Linked DNA regions of Homo sapiens: regions 1 and 2 are each linked to region 3. The links are contacts of gene promoters, found by promoter capture Hi-C in human tissues and cell types (Jung and others, 2019). All regions are on one chromosome and are shown on one strand. The core of a region is centred on a gene start or on the middle of the fragment in contact, and the rest is flanking DNA. Distances in the headings are between cores, read along the strand shown.

Region 1 (3,354 bases), core at 650-3,149, 340 kb after region 3:
TAGTCCTAGCTACTCAGGAGGCTGAGGCAGTACAATCACTTGAAACCAGGAGGCAGAGGCTACAGTGAGCCAAGATCATGCCACTGTACTCCAGCCTGGGTGACAGTGCGAGACTCTGTCTCAAAAAAGAAGAAAAAACATCCACATTTTTAATCACACGACTCTTTTTCTAAAATGTGATTCCTAATAGTCTACAGAGCATTCTTTAAGAAACACTTGATTAGTGCCTAGCATATTCATCATAAAGTGTATTTTATGAGGAAGAAAGACTTTGGGTTCCAAGAATAAAGGAAGCATGTAGAGTTGCCAGGTGAAATACAGGATGCCCCGTTAAGTTTGAATTTCAGATAAACAGCAAGTACTTTCTAGTATAAGTTTGCCCCACCTATAAGTATGCCTGAAATTCAAATTCCACTGGGTAGCCTGCATTTTTATTTGCTGAATCTGGCAACCTTAATAGTATACCCATTCTGCCATGTCCCTGAATCATCTGTATATTTCATATGGAGAGTGAGAAGCTTATGAAAACTAGAGTTGGAAAAAGCAGAAGAGGCAGACACTTCCACAAATAATTCTGAAGGCCCTTGCAGGTAGCAGGTAACCCTTACACCACAGAGATTCTCAACCAGGTGGAGCTTTTAAAATGCTGTTGGTCAGACCCAATCTCTAAGGACAGGGTGGACTTATCCATTAGGCATAGCACACACAGTGCCAAGGGCCCATAATATTTTAACTGGCCCACGAGAAAAAAATCAGAATAAAAAATGAATATAACTCAGCCTGGATTATGTCTTCATACTAACATAATCATAAAATATATTTATTTTTAATTTTTATGGAGGAAGGGGCCTGTATTAATTTGTTTTCACACTGCTGTAAAGATACTACCCAAGAGTGGGTAATTTATAAACAAAGGAGGTTTAATTGACTCACAGTTCCACATGGCCAGGAGGCCTCAGGAAACTTACAATCACGGTGGAAGGGGAAGTAGGCATGTCTTACATGGCAGCAGGCAAGAGAGAGTGAAGGGGGAAGAGCCCTTTAAAACAACCTCAGATCTCGTGAGAACTCACTCACTATCATGAGAACAGCATGGGGGAAACCACCTCCATGATTCAATCACCTCTTACCAGGTCTCTCCCTCAACACCTGGGGATTACAATTTGAGATGAGATTTGAGTGGGGACATAAAGCCAAACCATACCAGAACCCAAAAAATCAAAGTGCCTAGAGCCCACAGAAGTTATAATTCCACACTGCCCAGAGATTTGGATTTAAAGGACACATCACCTCATGTGCACAATTTTCACTTTTTGTTTAGTTATGACTGGAATTTCCACGGAAAAAATAAAAATAAGTCTGGTCTCCTGAGGAAATATTAAAAACCAAGCACTCAAAAAGGCCGTAACTTGATTTGTTCTTTCTAATTGTAGAAAAATTATTCTCCTAGATTGGAATGTTCATTTTATAAAAATTCCCAAGGGGCTAGTATATGTTTTTACTGCCATCACCACTGAAAATGTCTAGGGTCATTTCAGACATAAAAGAGGCAGGCTCCTATGGCTCATACCCCACTGCTTCAGCAGTAGGTCTGCATGTGTCTAAATGCTCTTCAAGCACAGGATCACGTTCTGTTCATTGACCATGCCAGGCATTTGATAATTGTGGTTAGTTAGTTACATGCTGGTTTTAGGTGTCCTGTCTGGCCTTTAATCCCAAATGCATAACATATTTACTTATTTCGATTTCACTTTCTTCACTAATTCTCTTTCAGACTCCTCCCAACATGGATCATTTGGAAGTGAGGTGCTAATCTGGAAGGATTTTTGCTTTGGAGAACAGAAAAATGTTGTCAATATCATGTGTTTCCCATTCCTTATCAGTCCACCAAATATATGTGCTGCCTCAGCAGCTGAGGAACGAGCAGGGTCAAATAGGGCAGGATGAAGAACTGCCCCTCTGTTCTCTTCGATGTCCAACACCTTTCAACAGAAAGCAGCGGTGCAACTAATTGAGCCGGTGTAATGTAAGTTAGCTTCACCACCAACAAGCCAAACCCACATCTTGCCAGTGGTAGAAAGCCCAGCCTGGGAATGCTTGAACTCTGAATCAAAAGAACAATGATATAATGATATATTTCCTCCAGAAAAGGACACTGGCTAATAACAGAATCGAAAGCCATGTGCCACTATATTAGACTGGATCTTGTACCAGTATTGGCGGCCAAAATGCAAACTGCTCAGTGAAAAAGTTATTCTAGACTTTGAAAGAAATAATTAGCACTGGACAGCCTTGCTCCTTTGAAAAAGCCAGGAGAGAGTATGCTGGGGTCAACCTTCACATGCAGACTGTATAAAATTATGGATCATTATTGCTACTATATAGCCTCTTGCTTTCCGAAGGATTTTTTACTGCTGAAGGAATTACATAATCTACAATCTAGCTTATGGTATGTGGGACACAAAGCCTTTTGTCACTGACTTTTATTTCATTGCTTAGCCATGGTGTTAATGAGGCAAAGATCACAGCTTTTATTGACAGATGGGCCTCATTGCTCTGAGGTATTCTTCAGCCAAATCTGCTGCAACTGTAATTGATCAATTGATTCTACCATCAATATTTATTGAGTCCCTACTATGTGCAAATCAGTGTGTTATGTGATGCAGGTACTGCAAAGCCAAATGAAACAAACAGAAATCCGAGATCATTTTTGTCCTCACAGTCTAGTAGGGGAGACAGATGCAGTCACAAATAGCTATACTACAAAGCAAATTACACTAAGCACAATAATAGAAGCACAAAGTGTAGTGGGAAATCAGAGGAGAAAGATTAATTCCAACCCATGAGGATGTGAATGGATCACCACAAATTTATCACCACCCTGGGAATAACAACTTACCACATATGTTATAATAACAGTGGGTTAGGATTGCTATTTTAAAACACAAATGAAAAATATATTGTAATTAGATGAAATTTGACAACAAAACAGAGCCAACCAACCAGACGTCTAAAATACTAAAAGACAAATAATGATTTGAGCTTTTTCATTTTCCTTAGGATTCACTAGCTGTTTATTCCTGTAAGGTGTGAACCATGAAATTTTTTTTAATGTGTTCTAGGGGTTATAAGACCTAACTGCATATGTTACATCCCAGGACAAATAAGTGCATTCCCTTGGTGGTGATTAGCTCCTGCCTTTTTCCATTTGAATCTGTGGCTTTAGCAAGGTCAGCTGTTCAACCTAAAGCTTTAGTTTCCAAACTCACCTTGCCAGCTTCTGTCTGCAAGCGTGTAAACATCAGGACTGAAAATGCTTTCTGTGTGTCTTCTTGGTGTGCAATGTACTCCTTC
Region 2 (3,867 bases), core at 1,242-3,741, 370 kb before region 3:
GTCTTTCAATGTCCTATCCCTTGAGAGAACTGAGGGCTGAGAACCAAGCTTTCCGAAGCGGTCTGTGTGTCGGCGGTGGTAGTGGTCTCTGGAGAAAAGAATGGAGACAGGATAGGACTTGGAGAAGAGTGAGTCATTGTTACCCAGAAACCCTGGAGAACACTGAAGGCAGAACTGGAATTTGCATTGTGTGTATGCAGTTGTTGCATATTCAACTTCCCATACCAGGAAATCTTGTGCCCAACTGGGAGGTATCTTTCTGTCAACTTAGAAACAGAGCACAAGTTTTGGTTTTTCAAAGCCAGCTTGTTAGAATATTAAGCCTATTTATAAACCTCATTATTGCAGCACCCATATGGCTGTTGTTCAAAGATACTCACTTTAAAAAAGTGAAAGACTGCCAGGCGCTTCATAATTTAGCATCAATGTTTAATCGACTCTCACTTATCCAGGCTATTAGAAACAATTTCCAAATCATCTGTTTGATTCTGGAGTACTTGATGCTTACATTTGACTGCAGGTGTGCCCAGTACTCTGGGAACTCCTAGCCATCAAAAAGCAAATAAAGACCCTTAAAAGCATCCTTGCTCCCACCTCACTGTTGTTTCTCGCTGTTTGCCTGCTTATCTTTACTTTGCCCCTGACTGTGGACAGAATCACCCCTTAAGCTTGCTTAGTTTCATTCTTTATCTCCCTGACTGAGGGCAGGAGAAGGAAAATGAAGTTCAGGGTCTAGAAGCTTCCACTTTATGACACTGCCGTGGAGAGCTTTGGGGAACCTATTTAAATACTGGAGGTCAGTGCTCTTTGCCCTTTGATGATGCTCCTATTTCAGAATCTGCCTGTCAGGATGTGACCAGCTGCCTGTAAATGGACCGAAGCCGTTGAGGGGGGTTTTGGGGTTCATGTCCCCTGTTGTGCACAAGTGCACGCACACACACACATGCATCATTTAATACTTCTTGGGTAATCCACAGTTCCATTGAAACATTCCGGACATAAACAGACATTAAGACTAGTGGTCTTTTAATTTACTTAAGAGCTAAATGAGTATGGGTTAATCAATAATTCTAGCCATAGCACATGAGATCTCCGCATTGAGTTACAACTTCCTGAGACTGCTTAAGGATGTGTGTAAGCAAGTCACTGGGCTCAGTTTTTAGGGAGTTATTGATAAAAAGGACTTTCTTTGAAAGATAATTTTAGATATTTCCAAGGATTATTGTGATATCCAGTTCATAACTATCCAGTTTTACTTTCTTTTCTCCTGCCTTTTGGGCAATGGCTCAGCTTTGACATTTAAGGGGAGTGTGTGGCTCTGCTAGGTTAAGTGGGACATTGCTGGGGTGGGTGGCAGGGTGTACAGGCAGGCACACGGCCCCTTATGCATGGGAAAAGCTGGGCAGTGTTTCAGCTCATTCTCCTCTTAGCAGAACTGAGATTAGCACCTGCTTTCTTTGTGGTTCAAGTGTTCCAAGATAAGGAAAATTGGGAGTATCCAATTTTTCCATTCTGGAAAAGCAATCTTCAACCTTTTTTTTGTGACTTTTAAAATCAATGAAAGATTTTTGATCAAGTAAGTTTTGAAAACCTACTGAATTATAATGCCATTATTATTTATGCAATACTACTGTTTTTAGTACAGTAGCTGACGCTTGAGCATTTCCAGGATGCCCAGCACTATGCTAAATGCCCTGCAGTCATCATTACATTTAACTCTCACATCACCCCGTAAAGCAGGCACTGCTGTTACCCAAATTTTACAGATGAGGAAACCAGTGGTTGGAGAAGTGATATAAGTTGCTAAAGGTCATGCAGCCTGTCGGACACAATAAGTTGGAGAAGGGATTAAAGCTCAGGCAAGTGATCTTGAGCAGTATGCTGTAATGCCTCCCCTTAGAAAAACAGAAACGACAAACAGATGAAGCTGTGTGTGTGTGTGTGTGTGTGTGTGTGTGTGTGTGTTTCAGTGAGAGAGAGAGAGAGAGAGAGAGAGAGAGAGAGAGAGAGAGAACGGTGGACCCATTCCAGGGAACAGACTTTGCAAAGTGCCACTCTAGACCTTCTTTGAAGTGGTGTCCTCAGCCTGGCCTTGTGAAGATGCCCTTGCCTTCTCTCCCAGCATGAAGCTGGCCTCTCCATCTCCCACCCTGCCAAATTTGCCAGGTCCCAGAACACAACAGCTCTTTGTCATTCTCTACTTTCTACATCAGCTTGGTCTAGCTACATGAAATCTTGAGATTTGTAGTGTGTTGTTTCAAGTTTCAAAATATTACAAATTTAAATTAAGTTTTAGAAACAAATTTTAAAAACAAGCCAGGAATGGTGGCTCATGCCTGTAATCGCAACACTTTGAGAGGCTGAGGCAGACAGATCACTTGAGGTCAGGAGTTCCAGACCAGCCTGGCCAACATGGTGAAACCCCATCTCTACTAAAAATACAAAACTTAGCTGGGCATGGTGGCATGCACCTGTAATCCCAGCTACTCAGAGGCTGAGGCAGGAGAATCGCTTGAACCCAGGAGGAGGAGGTTGCAGTGAGCCGAGATTGCGCCACTGCGCTCCAGCCTGGGCGACAGAGTGAGATTCCCTCTCAAAAACAAAACAAAGCAAAAAAAAATTCCCTTTGTCTTTCAGATTGCGAGTCAGGGATTCTGTTGAAGTTCTTAAAAATAGAAGGCCAAGAATAAACTGGGGTTTTTTTTCCAGCTCATTTCCTGCATTTTGGTGGACAGAATGCAGTATGTTTTATTGTTATTAATTTTATTTTGGTTTTATCTAGTGTCTAAGTTTCTTGGTGGAATCTTTTGCCTTCTTTGTATACATTCCTTAATTTTCTTTGAAGGCTTCAGAATTTGCCTTCTGTCTCAGCCACTTTAAGGTTCTGTATCCTTAGGCAAGTTACTTAACCTCTCTGAGACTCACTTCTGTCAAGTCGAAAGTAGGTAGAACCTCTCAGGGTTTGCAGGAGTTGTAAGTGAGTTAACTTGTGTAAGAGGAATGGAACAGAGGAGGTGCTCAACAAATGTGAGCTCCCCAGCCTTCTCATTGCTTTCCCTCTGTGTGTAGGAAACCACAGCTGTGGTGGATGTCCTCACTGCTCATTATAAATCATTGCTTAGTAGAAGGAAAAAGAATAAAAAGAAAGCATTTTTGATCAATTTTTGGGTAAATGCATTCATGAATTCAATAACAACATATTGAGCAGTTGCCATGACAAGGAAGAAACACTAGCAGATGTCAGGTAAGCCATCATTCTTTCCATAAGAATAACAGATCATGACCATGAGCAGTCATAAGTGCAATGTGGTGGGTAAGCTCTGGCCACTATGGGACACACAGAAGGAGTGTTACCCAGTTTGGGGGGCCCTAGAAGGTCTTTGGAAGTGATGTTTCAGTTGAGAACTGAAGGATGAGTAGGGCTCAGTCAGGCCTCACCAATCTTGCCCATTCAAAATAATCTGAGAGTTGGATCTTGAGTAATTTTTATGAGTTGCATTTTCTCTTGTGCTTTAAGAGCTGACCTCCAAACTCCATTGTAAGATGATACCATTTGGGTTGATTTTAGGGCTGTGTCTAAATGGGAGAAGATTGAAGGGGGAAACTTTACAATATCTGAAGCTAAGAATATATCTATGAACGAGGGGCGTGTCAGGAAGGTGAGTTGGACTGAAAATCAGACTTCTGGTCTGTCTTTCTTTGGGTCTACCAGATGCACAACCCATCTTTTGATGTGTATGGGTGACAGTTGCAAATAGTTCATTTATTTAGCCAACCATGTGCCAGTTAACGTGCATGCCCTTGGGATAGATATAGAGATGCATATGACAGACCTCTGACCTCAAGAAGCTCAGAACTAGGGACCAA
Region 3 (3,798 bases), core at 356-2,855:
TTCAGTGTAGTATGCAAGAGACCAAGAGATATGATTTCAGGGTTTGAGAAAGGATTTCAGGATTTCAGATTTTAAACTCTTGTAACTTCCTCTTACTAATCCTTACCTTCCTTTTCACAAGGGACAAAACCTTTCTTTTTACAGAGAGATACTTGTAAATGCAAATACCACTAAGAGCAGCAATATGTAAATTGATGTCACAATACACAGGGATTGTTAATGACAAAGGTCACCTTCTCTTTTGAGAACAGGAACTGAAAGGGGGAAGGAACTGGGTGCCAGAAAAGGGACCCCACTATATTGCAGAAAGGCAGGCACACCAGCGGAGCTGAAACACATTAGTTGGTTCAGTGTGTGGTCAGAAGCTGGTCTGGATTTTTTGTCTTTTCTCTTATCATTGAGCGGTTTTCTCAGTTGGATGTGAGAATATGCGGTTTAAATTATGGGAAGAAAATTCCTCTCAACTTTAAGATTGGATGCTGTGAGTCAATATAAGGTAGAAGCCAACGTTTGGCTGCTTGTACCACTCTCTAGCTGGGTGAACTTGGGACAGTTATCTGTTCTCTCAAAAATTTAGTTTTCAAATCTGTTAAATGGGGGAAGATAGTGGCTCTTCTCCAGGGTTGTTGAGAGTATTACCCATAGAATGTGCATGGAGTCCCGAGCCCAGGTCCTACACACTGATATTTTCGTGAGTGTGAGGGACCTTCTTGGATCTTTCAGTCCTCCATTTGTGATTATATGTCTATCTAAATTGATCTATCAGAATTATCTCTTTATCCCATCTCTGGCCTTCTCTGAAGCTGGTAATGAGATGAGAATAGTTCAAGACAAAAACCAACCCATTTCTAAATCTTGGGAACATAATAGAACTGATTCTCAGAAGCGAGTTGACACTTAGCTTACCATACGGTATTCTGAAGAATATCCCCCAAAGTAATCAGGTCTTGATTTACTGGATGGAATAAAAGGGTAGAAGGTTGTATCCACAGCCTATGTGGTATCTCGTTAATGCACCCTCTGGCTATGTAAAATACATATTCATTGTCAAACCTCTTTTTAACCAGAGGATTGAATTCAGGTCAAAAAGTACCGTCTTTTAAAATCAGATTTGTTCATTTAGAAAACCTAAATTGGCAGTATTCCTGGAGGAGAGACTGACTTAAAGTAGGGCATGGAGAATGTGTTTTGAGAAGCATACTTTCTGTACTTTCCCCAGCCTTGGAAGATAAACCTCTCTATCCTGTGTGAATATGCAGATACACCAACTTCATCTTGAAACTTTGCAAATGAGTTTGTGAGGGTTCAGTCTTTTACAGAACTCCATTCCCTCCCTTGGAAGAATGACTTGAAAGTGGTAACTTTTTCTGCTGTCCACTCGGCCCCAGCTTAGCCTTGCTCCATAAAGCACAACCCCGTGCCACCAGCTACAGCCTTCTTTGTCCCAGTAACTGACTGGAAACTTGCTTTTCTCACCACAAAAGTTCTTGGAGTAAAAATCTGAAGCACTTACCAATCAGCGCAGATGCAGGGAAGCGAAGGCGAGAGACAGGGAGGGCGTGTGTGCTCACCGAGGCTGGGCCTGGCTCCTCTGCGGCAGTGGCTGCTGCTGGCCGGCTCCAGCTCCTCTTATCTAGGGACCAGCTGCTGCTGTTGCCATGGGGATGCTCTGTTTCACAGGCACCAGGGCAAGGGGGATGGAGAAGGAAAGAGGACTAACATCTCCATCGCTGCTCTCCACGGCAATCATTGTACATTACAAAAGTACAGTATAGAGTCGTGCTTTGAGTTTCCGGTGTGCACACCAGAGAAATTCAGACAAACCAGCTACATCATTGAATTCCCATGCGATAGATTTTTTTTGGCCTGATTTTGTAAATATGGAAACTGAGGCACAAGAAGTTAAGTGATATGCCCAAGAGAGGCCACAGCTAATTTCGACTCTCAAAGCTATTTAAGTTTAAATCCAGAGTACTTTCAATCACTATTGCTGCTTCTCAAAGTACTATCATGAGGAGGAAGAGAAGGGTAGCTACTGCTAACATTTATGTAAGGCTACCAAAATGCCAGACACTCTTCTAGAGACTTCACACATATCTACTTACTTAACCCTCAGGCCAACCTTGTGAGATGAGCTACAGTCATCATCCCATTTTATTGATGAGGAAGCTGGGGCTCAAGAGTTACCAAATCATCTGACCAAGGTCTCCCCACATGGTGAAGCTAGGGTTTGAATGGGGTAATGAAATGCTAGGGTCCACGCTTGTAACCACTTTGCAATACCTCTCAGCAAAGAGAGCATTTCAAACAGCACATAGCAAAGAAAGCAGCCCCCAACTCTATAGGTTATAGTGTGCAGGCCAGAAAAAATTTCCTCCTTCAAAGGAACAAAGCCAAATGTACCAATATTAGGAATACGTAGGCACTCAAGAGTGGATGTTTAAGCAAGGTGGGAGAGGCGGGAGACATGCTGTCTTTTGGAGAGGAAGGTTCTATGTTTTGGGTCTGCTCACTGGAGGAGAGCCCACTGGGGTTTGGAGGAGCAGCAGTTTTGACTCCAAAGCAGGAAGGCCAGTCTGGGAGATCAGGTAGGTATCAGGACCCACTAGAAGGGCTCCAGACCCCCTGATAGCAGCCAATGGACCACCCAGTGATGCCCAAGAAATATGTTCTCACAGAAGATACGTGAGCACCATCCACACATCCATATTTTTTCCAGTCTTACCTGAGGTTCCCTGCAGAGCAGGTCCCTGGCAACCCCTTGGTTTCAACTGCCTGCTTGCCACTGGCAATGTGTTTGTTGGTGCCTCCCTCCCACTTGCCAGGATCCCAAATAACAGGGCTAGAACCATAGTAAACTCACCAAGAGGTTGACTCCTAGGGTTAGACTTTTGCCATGGTAACAGATAAGCAGAGAATGGACTTCTTTGCCTGTTCCATTTTGTGTTGATCCTTATTGGGACCTCCTGGGAAGAGATGAGGGTTGCTGAAAGGTGATGCTCTTGTCTAGGAAGGGAAGGCCCTAGATGTTGAGGGACAGGGCCTAGAAGCAGGTCTGTGTTCAAAACTGCCTGCTTTATCTTCTTCATTTTTTAAATTTTATTTTATTTTCAGTGCTGGGACACATGTGCAGGACGTGCAGGTTTGTTACATAGGTAAACGTGTGCCATGGTGGTTTGCTGGACCTATCAACCCATCACCTAGGCATTAAACCCTGCCTTACTTTATCTTCTTAACAACAGCCTTGTTGGCCAATGAGTTAGCAGCATCTTCAGTCCACACTTGAGTGGAAAAGATATACTTTCCTTCTGAAATCCTTGAATTCTTCTTTTGAATTAAACTGTTTTGAGGTAATAGATCTACATGTCGTTGTGAGGGATAATACAGGGAGATCTCCTATACGTAAGCAGTTATATCCAATGGTAACATCTTATGAAACTATCCTACAATATCAAAACCAGTATGTTGATATTTACATGAATATATACAGAACATTTCTGTCACCACAAGCCTCCCTTATCTTGCCGTTATATAGCCATGCCCCCCTCCGTTCCTTCCTAACCTCCTGCTCCCAATCACTTTTTAAACTCGGCAACCATGAATCTATTCTCCATTTCTATAATTTTGTCAATTCAAGAATGTTTTAATAATGGAATAATACAGTAGGTAGCCTTTTGGGTTTGGCTTTTTTTTTTTCACTCAGCATTATTCCCTAGAGATCCATTCAGGTTGTTGTGTGTGTCAATAATTTGTTCTTTGTCATTGCTGAATAGTATTCCATAGAATGGACCACAGTTG

The links. The method cuts DNA at HindIII sites, captures the fragments that hold promoters and counts their contacts. A contact is called where the count stands out against the background at its distance.
Region 1: a contact is called between a fragment that was not itself captured here and the fragment with the promoter of PPP1R17 in region 3, in 6 of the 25 tissues and cell types used here (H1 embryonic stem cells, mesenchymal stem cells, mesendoderm cells and 3 more).
Region 2: a fragment that was not itself captured here is called in contact with the fragment with the promoter of PPP1R17 in region 3 in 1 of the 25 tissues and cell types used here (mesendoderm cells).

Annotation. Positions count from the first base shown.
Region 1 is chr7:31,350,254-31,353,607 of GRCh38, reverse strand. No RefSeq gene overlaps it. Among named protein-coding and RNA genes, the nearest start is that of NEUROD6, 11 kb to the right of the region's middle. The HindIII fragment of the contact is 4,699 bases long and covers 1-3,354 here.
Region 2 is chr7:32,054,467-32,058,333 of GRCh38, reverse strand. The region is part of intron 1 of PDE1C (phosphodiesterase 1C); the gene reads left to right. Among named protein-coding and RNA genes, the nearest start is that of PDE1C, 14 kb to the left of the region's middle. The HindIII fragment of the contact is 3,574 bases long and covers 705-3,867 here.
Region 3 is chr7:31,685,022-31,688,819 of GRCh38, reverse strand. PPP1R17 (protein phosphatase 1 regulatory subunit 17) reads right to left here and starts at 1,605. Exons shown (of 5, transcript NM_006658.5): 1 at 1,514-1,605. It also overlaps a transcript of PDE1C not described here. The HindIII fragment of the contact is 11,578 bases long and covers 1-3,798 here.